3 separate regions of the Homo sapiens genome follow, and all the other regions are linked to region 1. Evidence: promoter capture Hi-C in 16 types of primary human blood cells and fetal thymus (Javierre and others, 2016). All regions are on one chromosome and are shown on one strand. Each heading gives the region's core, a stretch centred on a gene start or on the middle of the fragment in contact. The rest is flanking DNA. Distances are from core to core; before and after follow the strand shown. Region 1 holds the start of UBE4A (ubiquitination factor E4A). Region 2 holds the start of TTC36 (tetratricopeptide repeat domain 36). Region 3 overlaps SCN2B (sodium voltage-gated channel beta subunit 2).

What was found. Contacts are between HindIII fragments. The CHiCAGO score rates a contact against its expected background, and 5 or more counts as called.
Region 2: a contact is called between the fragment with the promoter of TTC36 here and the fragment with the promoter of UBE4A in region 1, in 2 of 17 cell types (activated CD4 T cells and non-activated CD4 T cells). The highest score is 6.0, in activated CD4 T cells.
Region 3: a fragment that was not itself captured here is called in contact with the fragment with the promoter of UBE4A in region 1 in 6 of 17 cell types (neutrophils, activated CD4 T cells, M2 macrophages and 3 more); the score reaches 8.7 in neutrophils.

Annotation. Positions count from the first base shown.
Region 1 is chr11:118,357,422-118,361,106 of GRCh38, reverse strand. UBE4A (ubiquitination factor E4A) reads right to left here and starts at 1,507. Exons shown (of 20, transcript NM_001204077.2): 1 at 1,433-1,507. RefSeq lists an enhancer at 1,501-1,570. The HindIII fragment of the contact is 13,441 bases long and covers 364-3,685 here.
Region 2 is chr11:118,524,709-118,528,723 of GRCh38, reverse strand. It overlaps TTC36 (tetratricopeptide repeat domain 36), which reads right to left and starts at 1,250. Exons shown (of 3, transcript NM_001080441.4): 1 at 1,112-1,250; 2 at 1-121. The coding sequence starts at 1,229. It overlaps KMT2A (lysine methyltransferase 2A), which reads right to left. Exons shown (of 36, transcript NM_001197104.2): 36 at 1,892-4,015. The region is part of intron 1 of TTC36-AS1 (TTC36 and KMT2A antisense RNA 1); the gene reads left to right. The HindIII fragment of the contact is 1,033 bases long and covers 851-1,883 here.
Region 3 is chr11:118,165,092-118,169,151 of GRCh38, reverse strand. It overlaps SCN2B (sodium voltage-gated channel beta subunit 2), which reads left to right. Exons shown (of 4, transcript NM_004588.5): 2 at 401-567; 3 at 857-1,067; 4 at 2,066-4,060. The coding sequence ends at 2,265. Among named protein-coding and RNA genes, the nearest start is that of SCN2B, 9.5 kb to the left of the region's middle. The HindIII fragment of the contact is 6,967 bases long and covers 1-4,060 here.

The sequences.
Region 1 (3,685 bases), core at 258-2,757:
AGATGGAGGTTGCCGTGAGCTGAGATCGTGCCACTGCACTCCAGAGCAGAGCCTGGGTGACAGAGCCAGACTCTGTCTCAAAAAAAAAAAAAAAAAAATACACACACACACACACACACATATATACATACATATATGTATGTATTTTTTTTCCTATTTTCAACTGCCATACAGAGATACAACACTATCCTGTTGTCAGACACTTTGGGATGGTACAGCTACCAACCTTAGAAGCTTTTGGATTTGATTCTTTTAAAATATATCCTCCTTGAAAACAAGTTTCACTCTGATACACTTGCTGCAAAGATCTATATCTATAATAGCTGTCCTACAAAATTCTGTCACTTCCTCCTAATACAAGCTTTTGTTTATGAATAGTACCACTAATCCTTTAAGACCACTGTCAGCTCTCATGAACACACAAGTGTGTTAACATCAGACTTGGTATTGTTTTTCAACAGAAATATCTGGAACACTTTGTAAAACTGGGATCGTCAAAATCAAGCTCTATCAAATCATACTCCCATAAGGTCTGTGTCCTGGCAAATAATACATATATCAATATAAAATAGAAATTAAAATATCAATTTAAAATAGAAATTAAGAAACAATTTTCGTTGTCGTATGTTTCACCTAACACTATCAGGCCATGCTAATGTGGCAACAAATTCCATCAACACATCTATCTGCAGCCTAGAAGGATCTCAAGTCAAAAAGCAGACAGCAGTCCTTCTTGGATCCCATTTTATCGCAGGTGGGCTTCCACGTGAGACCAAAACAGTAAATGACAGCGAGACTAAACACATGCTTGCTGTCAGGGCATAAAACTGATCCTAAAAGGAAGGCTCATCAAATATAAGGTCATGAGGCATGGTCACTCAATTTTAGAAGTGTCTTCTAAACCCAAGGAAACATGAAGCAGAGTGCCCCAAGAGTTATCTGTGGTGAACTCATCACCTGCCTTAAGAATTATCAACACCCTGACGTATGCATTGAACTGGTTTGCTTACGACTCACGATTAATCTTATCTTCTTGGCATCTGCCTATTTGTTATCTACTCTTTATATTTTATCCTTCCATGCTCCATAAGGGATTCGCGGGAAGGAGGGAGATCCACCCGCCCGGGGCACGTTCTAGAGAAAGTTAAGTCAAAAGATAATGCAATGATAGCGCTCCGGCCTCTTCCAGGAGGGGCTTGGCAAAGATGGGGACAGAAATGTACAAAGAGACATCAGAAGCTGGGGCACTGTAAGGGGTTCCAAATCAGACAGGGTCGAAGTTCAAGAAGGAGAAGGTCCCTGGTTAGCAAAGCATAGGAGAAGGAATTTGGAGAAGATAAGAGTGAACAGGCTTGAAGTGGCATTGGACCAGCAGAAAATATCACAACGCAAAGTCAACGACCCCGTCCCCTGAAGCTATTGCCTGTCTTACCAGAGCCTGAAGTGCCAGCAGCGACGACACGACAGAATCTCAGCGGCCGAAGGGTTCCCACTTCCGACTCAGCACAGCAACCGGAAGTTACGTCATCAACAAGCGCCGGGGCATGTGGAAGTTCATCTCCGCGCCGGAAGCACGGTGTGCAGGCTCACCGGGGGGAACGGCGCGCAAATAGTCCTACAGCGCATGCGCTAGCTTGTTAGGGGCGGGCTGGAGGCGGGCAGGAAGTGGCAAGAAGTGGCCTTGGCATCGGATTGTGGGGGCTGGAGTTGGCCCACCTGGCAGTGCGCTTTGGAGTATAGAATATGAGGCTGGGTTTTGGAAATCAGCGTACCGAGGGCAGATAAAACTCTGTGATCCCTGGCTCTGCTCGCAACCTCTGTTGGGGGTCTGCTCTCTTATTTTCCCACCAGTCCTAGACCTTTTTGAAGCAGCTTCTGTTACTCTCTATTATTCAAAGGGATAACACTAACAGCAATAACAACTACAAGTTTGTTATTGTTGTGCTGTCTTTGGAGCAATCTTTGGAGTGTGCTATCTTTGATTGGATTTCAGTTTTCTTATCTGTAAAGTGGAGACAGTATACATCCTACAAGGTTGTTTTGAGATACACATAGATGGCCAGGCACAGTGGCTCACGCCTTGTAGTCCCAGCACTTTGGGAGGCTGAGACGGGCGGGTCACGAGGGCAAGAGATCGGGATACACATAAATAATAGAAGCAGCATAATTTTCAAGAGTTAAAAGCGCTGTGCAAGTGAAAATTCACAGATTGAGAGAAAATAGTTGCAACTCATATATCTGATAAAGGATTCATCTCTAGAATATGTAAAGAACTACAAGAACGAAAAACCCCCAAACAGTTCAGTTCAAAAAAGGGCAAAGGACTTGAATAGACATTTCTCCAAAGAAGATACATTCCAAGAGAATGACTATCCACTTGGTATCTGTGGGGGATTTGTTTCAGGACCCCCTTGGGTACCAAAATCCAAGGATGCTCAAGTTCCTTACATAAAATGATGCAGTATTTGCATATAACCTATGCACATCCTCCTGTGTCATCCTAGAGATGACTAAGTCATCTCTAGATCACTTATAATACCTAATACAACATAAATCTAAATAGTGTTGTATTGTTTAGGGAATAATGACAAAAAGTCTGTACATGTTCAATACAGATGAAATTTGTTTTGGAATATTTCCAATTCATGGTTGGTTGAAGCCACAGATGCAGAGCCCACAGATATGGAAGGCCAACTGTACAAATGGTGGATAAGCATATGAAAGAGTGCTCAACACCACTAGTCTTTAGGGAAATGAAAAAAAAAATCATGAGATACCACTTAATACCTACTAGGATGGCTACTATAAAAAAAAAGGAAAGTAATTGTTGGCAGATGTGGAGAAATTGAAACCGTATGCGTTGCTGATGGCAATGTTAAATAGTCCAGACTTTTTGGAAAAACAGTTTGATGATTCCTCAAAAAGTTAAACATAGTATAACCACATGATCAAGCAATTCCGCTTTGATATAGATGTTCAAAATAACTGAAAGCAGGAACTCAGATACTTGTATACATATATTTACAGTAGCACTATTCATAATAACCAAAAGGTAGAAATAACCCAGAATGTTCATTAACAGATGAATGCATAAACAAAATATGGTATATAGCTACAGATGACTTATTCAGCCTTGAAAAAGAATGAAGTTCTGATACACGCTGAAACATTGATGAACCTTGAAAACGTTATGCTAACTGAAACGAGCCAGACAGAAAGGACTAAATAGTGTATGATTCAGTTTATATGTGGTACACAGAATAGGCACATTCCTTGAGAGAGAAAGTATAATAGAGGTCACCAGGGATTGGAGGGAGAGGCGAATGGGAGTTATTGTCTAATGGGTACCAAGTTTCTGTTTAGGAGGATGAAAAATTTCTGAAATGGGTAGTGATGATGGCTACACATTGTGGATATATTTAATGCCATTGAATGGTACACTTAAAAATAGTTAAAATGGGGTTGGGTGCAGTGGCTCATGCCTGTAATTCCAGCACTATGGGAAGCCGAGGTGGACAGATCACTTGAAGTCAGGAGTTCAAGACCAGCCTGGTCAACATGGTGAAACCCTGTCTCTACTAAGAATACAAAAATTAGCTGATCATGTGGATGTGCGCCTGTAATCTCAGCTACTTGGGAGGCTGAGGCAGGAGAATCGCTTGAACTTGGGAGGCAGAGGTTGCAG
Region 2 (4,015 bases), core at 1-2,500, 170 kb before region 1:
AGGCAGATGGCTTGGCCAAACCTCTCCAGGGCTGTGCTGAGGTCCCCAGCCTCTGCTGCCATCACCCCCTGCAGCTCCAGGGCCTTGGACTGTTCCAGCTGTGCTTGAGGGAAAACTTCATCTGGGCCAGGGAAGGAGCCAGGAGAAGCCAGGTGTGCAGTTGGTAGCAAGAAGAAAAAGCCACCTCAGGCTTTGGAATTCTGAGATCTGAGCCAGAGCTGACTGGGTATGGGTCACAGCAGGGGTCAGTTGCAGTGTTTGGGGTAGGGGGAGATGAGGTCACTAAGGCTGGGAGCTAGCATTGCCTGAGTTCCAAGAGACCTGGGAAGGGGCCTTGGTTGGTTCCCCATTGCCAAGAGAATGAAGCCCAGACTCCTCAATCTGTTAAAGAAGTTGCTCAAGTTCTTTGTGTATGGCCTCAACAGGCCATACGTTGCAGAGCTTGGATTTGAACCCAGGTCATTCTGGCTCCTGTCTGCATTTTACTCTACTACACCGCCTCTTATGCAAAGGCCACCATGACATTCCCAGATCATGAACATCACTTCTGACGTATCCCTCTGTGTTTCGGCCTGAGTTAGTAAGGTGTAGGCTTTACTCCTCTAGAAACAAAGGATCAAAAACTCCTTCATTAGGGATTAATGGAAAAGCCAGTGAACGCACTCACTGCGGAAGAGTTAGTTTGGAGCTTGGCTTGTGACAGTGTTTAACGGTTACTGGTTGTGCTTGCTATATTGGAACCACTCAACTGAGCAACCATGCCCTGCCTTATTTCAGTCTTCTGTTCTGGTGGTGGTATTCTCTGTTATGACAAAAATGTGAGAGTTTAACATCACCTGGCAGTTAAGCTTGGATCATACAGTCAATTAAGTGGTAAGTTCAGAGGCATGAGAGCTGATGGATCGAGAGACAAACCCCAGCTTACTCCTCTTGGCAGGACATCTCTTACCAAACCCCCATCAGTGCGCTAAGGAGCAGCCAACCTCTCTGATTCCAATCTCAATCATAATCATGGAACAAGGGGCCTTATAAAACCACCTCCCTCTCTGCTACCTCGGGAGGCCAGCAGGCCAGCCTATGTGCAGAGCTACACTCCAGATCAAATGCCCACCTTCTTCTCGTTCTTCCTTTTCTGCTTCCTCTCCGAGGTCCAATCCAACAATGTCTCCAAATGGGGTGTCAGGGTTGAAGATGGCCTGCAGCACTGCCTGATCATTTGGAGTCCCCATGGTGCTCAACTCCAAAATCCCAAAAGGTGACTCCAGATGAGAGAAGAGGGAGGGACGTGGTGAGGGTGGAGCCTCCAGCAGGAAGTTGATCTGAAAGGATGAGGACCACCCCTTCGTGAGGAGTGTCTCCCTGTCCATGGCTGTAGCATTTGCTCAACCTGTGGCCTGGAGGGTTGACCCTGGCTTGGCAGACTACTTGGTTATTTCTCAACTGCCCCTGCCCCCAGGAGAAACAGTAAACAAATCCAGCTTCAGCCTTAAGGTGGAGTGCAGCTAGAGAAGGTGTTCTCCAGCTTCTCCCTGAAATGCTTTCAGTTTATTATATTCACAGTTGAGAAAACCGATAAAAATCAATACTTAACCTCCTTGGATGAAACAGGGGAGCTATGTAGAAGGTAAAGGCCCTGTTCCTTTGTCCTCTTGACCCTGCCTCATATCCACAATTAATTAGGTCCTGAACATACATCACTGATGAATAAAGGAAGAAAATAGTCAAGAGAGCCAGTGTGGAGTGGACCTGAAGGTGGGCTACAGGGAATAATTTAGTGATGCCACCTTAAAGTAAAGGACTGTGGAAGGTACTTTGTGACCAGGTCACAGGCCATGCCCCTCCCGCTTTTCTCCACCCTCTCCAACCAAAGCCAAAAGGAAGCTTAACCATGTGCAGCAATAAACTTGACATGTTTATTAATTAAACTATCACTTAAATAAAAAAAAGTGCATAGAAAATAAACATGTTTAAAAACTCCTTTTTTTTACAACTATGTACACTTTTTACTTTTACATTCAGTCTTTCGTAGAGAGCTTTCAGCATTATTATTTTTTGAACTATTAAAGTATTTTCCTTCATCCCTGTCACAGGGAGTTAACACTGATGGACTTTAGACACATTTTCCTTTTTTTTTTTTCTCTTTTTCTCTAACCAGAAGCTTGGAAGAACACAAGGAAAAAAAACAGATCTGTTATACATGATAAAGTTGTCAAAAAATGTCTTATTTCTAGAAAAGAAGCTTGTCATCTGTTGAGCTCTTGAAACAATTATTCAACTACCTGTATTTACTAAAGAGACTGTTAAAAGTTCAATAAAAGAAACACCACAATTCTATTTTCTTGGTTGAAAGACAGAACTAGAGTACCTCGGAACAAGATACCAGGAAAGCACAGAACACAATTTTCCCCTAAATGCAGGTGGTAACCCCAACATTCATAACCAAAAATAGAGAAACAAGGAGGACAGGTACTGACTGGCAACATTCATGGGCAGAAAAAAATCCAGGTGACACCATGTCTGCATTTTTCTCTGATCCGAGGAATGGACTGTTCTACCATTCCTTTATGGTTAGAGGTTCCCCCCATTTCGGGAATCAGAGGAAAGTGAGCCTGACATCTTCCTGCCGCTACTAGCAACTGTAACACAATCCTTATCTATAGTGTTAAGAGAATTAAAAGCCATGGACTGAACTAGGCTTTGTTACATGGTGCATTACTATATTAGTTCCTATATATATCATATTTATATTTATTTGAAAACCAAAACAAACAAAAAGTTGCAAGTTTCCAGAGTGTGTGACTTGACTAGTATTCATGATTCGGCACAAAACCATCTGCTCCATAACCTTGTATTGCTTTAAAATGAAGGAAATGAAACATAAAATTACACCCAGCCCTTTGCAATGACCCGCTTTTCCTTAAAAACAAAAACAACTTGATTTCTATTAAAAAAAAAAAATCCCAAACCGAACTTAGAAGTTAACATCTGACAAGGTTTTGACCTTTAGTATTTTCAGATATTTGATTGAACGTCAGTCCTTTAGAAAGATACATTCATTAGAATATTTTTTTTATTTTTGTGTGTGTGTTGTATTTTTTTTTCCTTTTTTTTTTATTTTTTATTTTTTTTAAATCAAGGGAGCTACATGGTGCTCACTGCATTGGCCGGGGGTTTGACGGAGGCGAGCAGGGTGGCGGGCTGGGTCCCGGCAAAGGAGTCTGGTTGAAAACGTATAGCTGCCAGGGCTTCCCCCTTAATTCTTGTTATTGGTGTAAAAACAGAGGGGCTGTGCGAGAGGTGGTGGGTGGCCAAGGAGGGAGCCAAGAGACCAAGTTCCGGCCAAAGGGTCAGCGCCATGCAGCTATTCTGGTTACACAGTTGTCACTGGCCACCAGGAAATGCAGCCACAACAGGTTCTAGCAGCAAAGCTATAAGTGAGCTGGCTCTCACTGAGAACTGACCAGGTTTGCAGCTGTTACTCCTCAGGGATTTGGGATGCCCCTTGGGGGATTCTTGGGAATGACCCATCACAATTCCTCAATCTGCACTTTTGTGCGGAGATTCCCTTGGTCACTTTTGAAATGAACTCAGATGTGTTTGGAGATAGCTGTGCCGTTTTTGCCTTCTTTCCCTCTTGTAGGGAAACCTTCGCTTATTCCCCCAAGTTGCTGGCAGGTGTGCTGAAAATTTGGCAATGGACTCAAGGCTGAGCTAGAAGAGGAATTTCTCATTTTTGTGGTTGACAATTAGGGGGTGGAAAGGCAAGGCAAACCATCTGCAGCTGGCAGGAGAAGGAAGCTGTGGGTTCCTCCCCTGTCCTCAGGGTTTAGGGTTGGTAGAGAGTGAGGAGGGGCTCACAGTACAGCATGGCCTAGCAGGGCAGTAACTAGGTCTATTTAGCTGAGTTCCCCCCACCCCCTGACTGGCCTTTGGGTCTTTCTCAAGGTGAATTCAGGACCCATCAGTGCATTAATCATTTCAGTAACAAATGCAGCTTAAGGTTTTTTTTTTTTCT
Region 3 (4,060 bases), core at 1,217-3,716, 190 kb after region 1:
CAAAGACCACATCTGGTGCCCCATATGTGCCTGCCCACTCCAGGAGTATGGACTGGGGAGGCTGAGTGGGCCCCTGCCAGGAAGAACGAAGTCCAATTCCATGCGGCTTGCACCTGTACTCCCAGCTACTTGGGAGGCTGAGGTGAGAGGATCACCTGAGCCCAGCAGGTCTAGGCTGCAGTGAGTCATGATTGCGCCACTGCACTCCAGCTTGGGCAACAGAGACCCTGTTGCAAATAACAGTAACTCCCACCTCCTGATTAACTGGAGCTGTCAGGGACCCAGTCCCCTCCCTGTGGCTCTGCTCTGCCTCATCCCCCAACACTCCCAGGCACAGAGGGCTTGCCCCTCCCCAGCCCTTTCAGCCAGACTCCTCACCAGCTTGTGGCTTCATCTGCAGTGCCACCAGGACGGAGCATGGAGGTCACAGTACCTGCCACCCTCAACGTCCTCAATGGCTCTGACGCCCGCCTGCCCTGCACCTTCAACTCCTGCTACACAGTGAACCACAAACAGTTCTCCCTGAACTGGACTTACCAGGAGTGCAACAACTGCTCTGAGGAGATGGTGAGTCCTGGGCTGAAGGCAGGGGCAGGGGAGGAGGTAGGAGCCCCATGGCATGAAGCCCCTGGTCCCACCACCGGCCCCGGCACTGCGCTAGGGCCCCAGAGGACCCTGGGTGGGCTGCGTGCTCTGGAGGCTCTTGAAACAAGGTGTGCTGCGCATCCAGGTGCCTCACAGAGGTAACTGCCTCTCTTCCCCAGGAAAAGGGTGGATGGGAAGAGGGGGCATCCTCACTGTCCTTGTAGTTCCTTGCTCATCCAGCCACCCATCCTGTCCCTTGCTCCAACCCCAGTTCCTCCAGTTCCGCATGAAGATCATTAACCTGAAGCTGGAGCGGTTTCAAGACCGCGTGGAGTTCTCAGGGAACCCCAGCAAGTACGATGTGTCGGTGATGCTGAGAAACGTGCAGCCGGAGGATGAGGGGATTTACAACTGCTACATCATGAACCCCCCTGACCGCCACCGTGGCCATGGCAAGATCCATCTGCAGGTCCTCATGGAAGGTGAAGGCTGGGGTGCCAGCTGCGGGGCCCTGACCTTTCCCACCCACCTACTCTCTGCGGCATTTGCTCAGGGCACTTTGGGGAGGCCAGGCCCTCCTGAGGATGGGAGCAACCATTTGTGCTGCATAGAAGGAATCCATTTTCTTCCCTCTAGTCCTCAAGAACCTGGGAACATGTCCCAGAGAGTCCTGGTAATGATACAGAATATAATCCCAGTCTTAATAATGGGGCTTGGTGTGATGGCTCACACCTGTAATCACAGCGCTTTGGGAGGCTGAGGCAGGCAGATAGCTTGAGCTCAGGAGCTCGAGACCAGCCTGGGCAACATGGCAAAACTCCATCTCTACAGAAAATGCAAAAATTAGCTGGGCATGGTGGCTTGCACCTATACTCCCAGCTACTTGGGAGGCTGAGGTGAGAGGATCATCTGAGCCCAGCAGGTAGAGGCTGCAGTGAATCATGATTGTGCCACTGCACTCCAGCTTGGGCAACAGAGCAAGACCCTGTTTCAAATGACAACAACAGCAATAATAATGATGGTGATGATGGCAGCTTTCATTTATTGGGCACCTCTATGTCTCAGTCATAGGGCTAAGCTCTGTTTATGCATTATCTCATCCTCATGAAAACCTTTGAGGGAGGTACTATTATTAAGCCCATTTTACATGTTAGAAAACTGAGGTTAGAGAGGATAAGTTACTTAAGGTCACGCAATTCGTAAGTTGTACAATTAGGACTCAAATTTGGGTCTGTTTGATCTTAAAGTTCATGCTCTTAAATACTTCATCACACTAGCTCCTCTGGGGGCTTTGGGTGTCCTGGGATTTGGAGGTGGCGGCGCTTCAGGGTCAGTCACTGGATTGCTTTTCGGCTTTGCTAAAGTCCTGTCTGTGGAGGAGAGTAAAGTCAGGATGGTTCCACGCATGCCACGGGTAGTGGGGTGATGGGGGAGGCCCCTTTCCCAGCCCTGGTGCTCAGTGGCTCTGCTTCCTTTCCAGAGCCCCCTGAGCGGGACTCCACGGTGGCCGTGATTGTGGGTGCCTCCGTCGGGGGCTTCCTGGCTGTGGTCATCTTGGTGCTGATGGTGGTCAAGTGTGTGAGGAGAAAAAAAGAGCAGAAGCTGAGCACAGATGACCTGAAGACCGAGGAGGAGGGCAAGACGGACGGTGAAGGCAACCCGGATGATGGCGCCAAGTAGTGGGTGGCCGGCCCTGCAGCCTCCCGTGTCCCGTCTCCTCCCCTCTCCGCCCTGTACAGTGACCCTGCCTGCTCGCTCTTGGTGTGCTTCCCGTGACCTAGGACCCCAGGGCCCACCTGGGGCCTCCTGAACCCCCGACTTCGTATCTCCCACCCTGCACCAAGAGTGACCCACTCTCTTCCATCCGAGAAACCTGCCATGCTCTGGGACGTGTGGGCCCTGGGGAGAGGAGAGAAAGGGCTCCCACCTGCCAGTCCCTGGGGGGAGGCAGGAGGCACATGTGAGGGTCCCCAGAGAGAAGGGAGTGGGTGGGCAGGGGTAGAGGAGGGGGCCGCTGTCCACCTGCCCAGTGCTTGGCCTGGCAGTGGCTTCAGAGAGGACCTGGTGGGGAGGGAGGGCTTTCCTGTGCTGACAGCGCTCCCTCAGGAGGGCCTTGGCCTGGCACGGCTGTGCTCCTCCCCTGCTCCCAGCCCAGAGCAGCCATCAGGCTGGAGGTGACGATGAGTTCCTGAAACTTGGAGGGGCATGTTAAAGGGATGACTGTGCATTCCAGGGCACTGACGGAAAGCCAGGGCTGCAGGCAAAGCTGGACATGTGCCCTGGCCCAGGAGGCCATGTTGGGCCCTCGTTTCCATTGCTAGTGGCCTCCTTGGGGCTCCCGTTGGCTCCTAATCCCTTAGGACTGTGGATGAGGCCAGACTGGAAGAGCAGCTCCAGGTAGGGGGCCATGTTTCCCAGCGGGGACCCACCAACAGAGGCCAGTTTCAAAGTCAGCTGAGGGGCTGAGGGGTGGGGCTCCATGGTGAATGCAGGTTGCTGCAGGCTCTGCCTTCTCCATGGGGTAACCACCCTCGCCTGGGCAGGGGCAGCCAAGGCTGGGAAATGAGGAGGCCATGCACAGGGTGGGGCAGCTTTCTTTGGGGCTTCAGTGAGAACTCTCCCAGTTGCCCTTGGTGGGGTTTCCACCTGGCTTTTGGCTACAGAGAGGGAAGGGAAAGCCTGAGGCCGGCATAAGGGGAGGCCTTGGAACCTGAGCTGCCAATGCCAGCCCTGTCCCATCTGCAGCCACACTACTCGCTCCTCTCCCAACAACTCCCTTCGTGGGGACAAAAGTGACAATTGTAGGCCAGGCACAGTGGCTCACGCCTGTAATCCCAGCACTTTGGGAGGCCAAGGCGGGTGGATTACCTCCATCTGTTTAGTAGAAATGGGCAAAACCCCATCTCTACTAAAAATACAAGAATTAGCTGGGCGTGGTGGCGTGTGCCTGTAATCCCAGCTATTTGGGAGGCTGAGGCAGGAGAATCGCTTGAGCCCGGGAAGCAGAGGTTGCAGTGAACTGAGATAGTGATAGTGCCACTGCAATTCAGCCTGGGTGACATAGAGAGACTCCATCTCAAAAAAAAAAAAAAAAAAAAAAAAAGGCAATTGTGCGGAGCCAACCATCACTGCCATTACACTCACATTCAATGGAAATTGATTAGGCCTGAGAGAAGGAGCAAGAGGCAGAAACACTGACTCTGAGACCATGACCTTGGAAGATCCTCAGAGATCAACTAGCCAAGTCACTCACTTAAAATGGGGAAACTGAGGTTCCAACTGACAGAAACTGAGGGTCCTGCCCTCTTCTCTGGCTCCTCAGTCTCCAGTTTGAAGCAACAGAGCCATCATTTTCCCAGTGGGAGGGGCCTCTGTGTCCTGGTCTATGATGGGGCGAGTTGGAGGGGTGGGCTTCTCTAGCCCTGCCCCCTCCCAGGAGCCCAGCCCCTCTGGCCAGGACTGAGGAGGAGTGGAG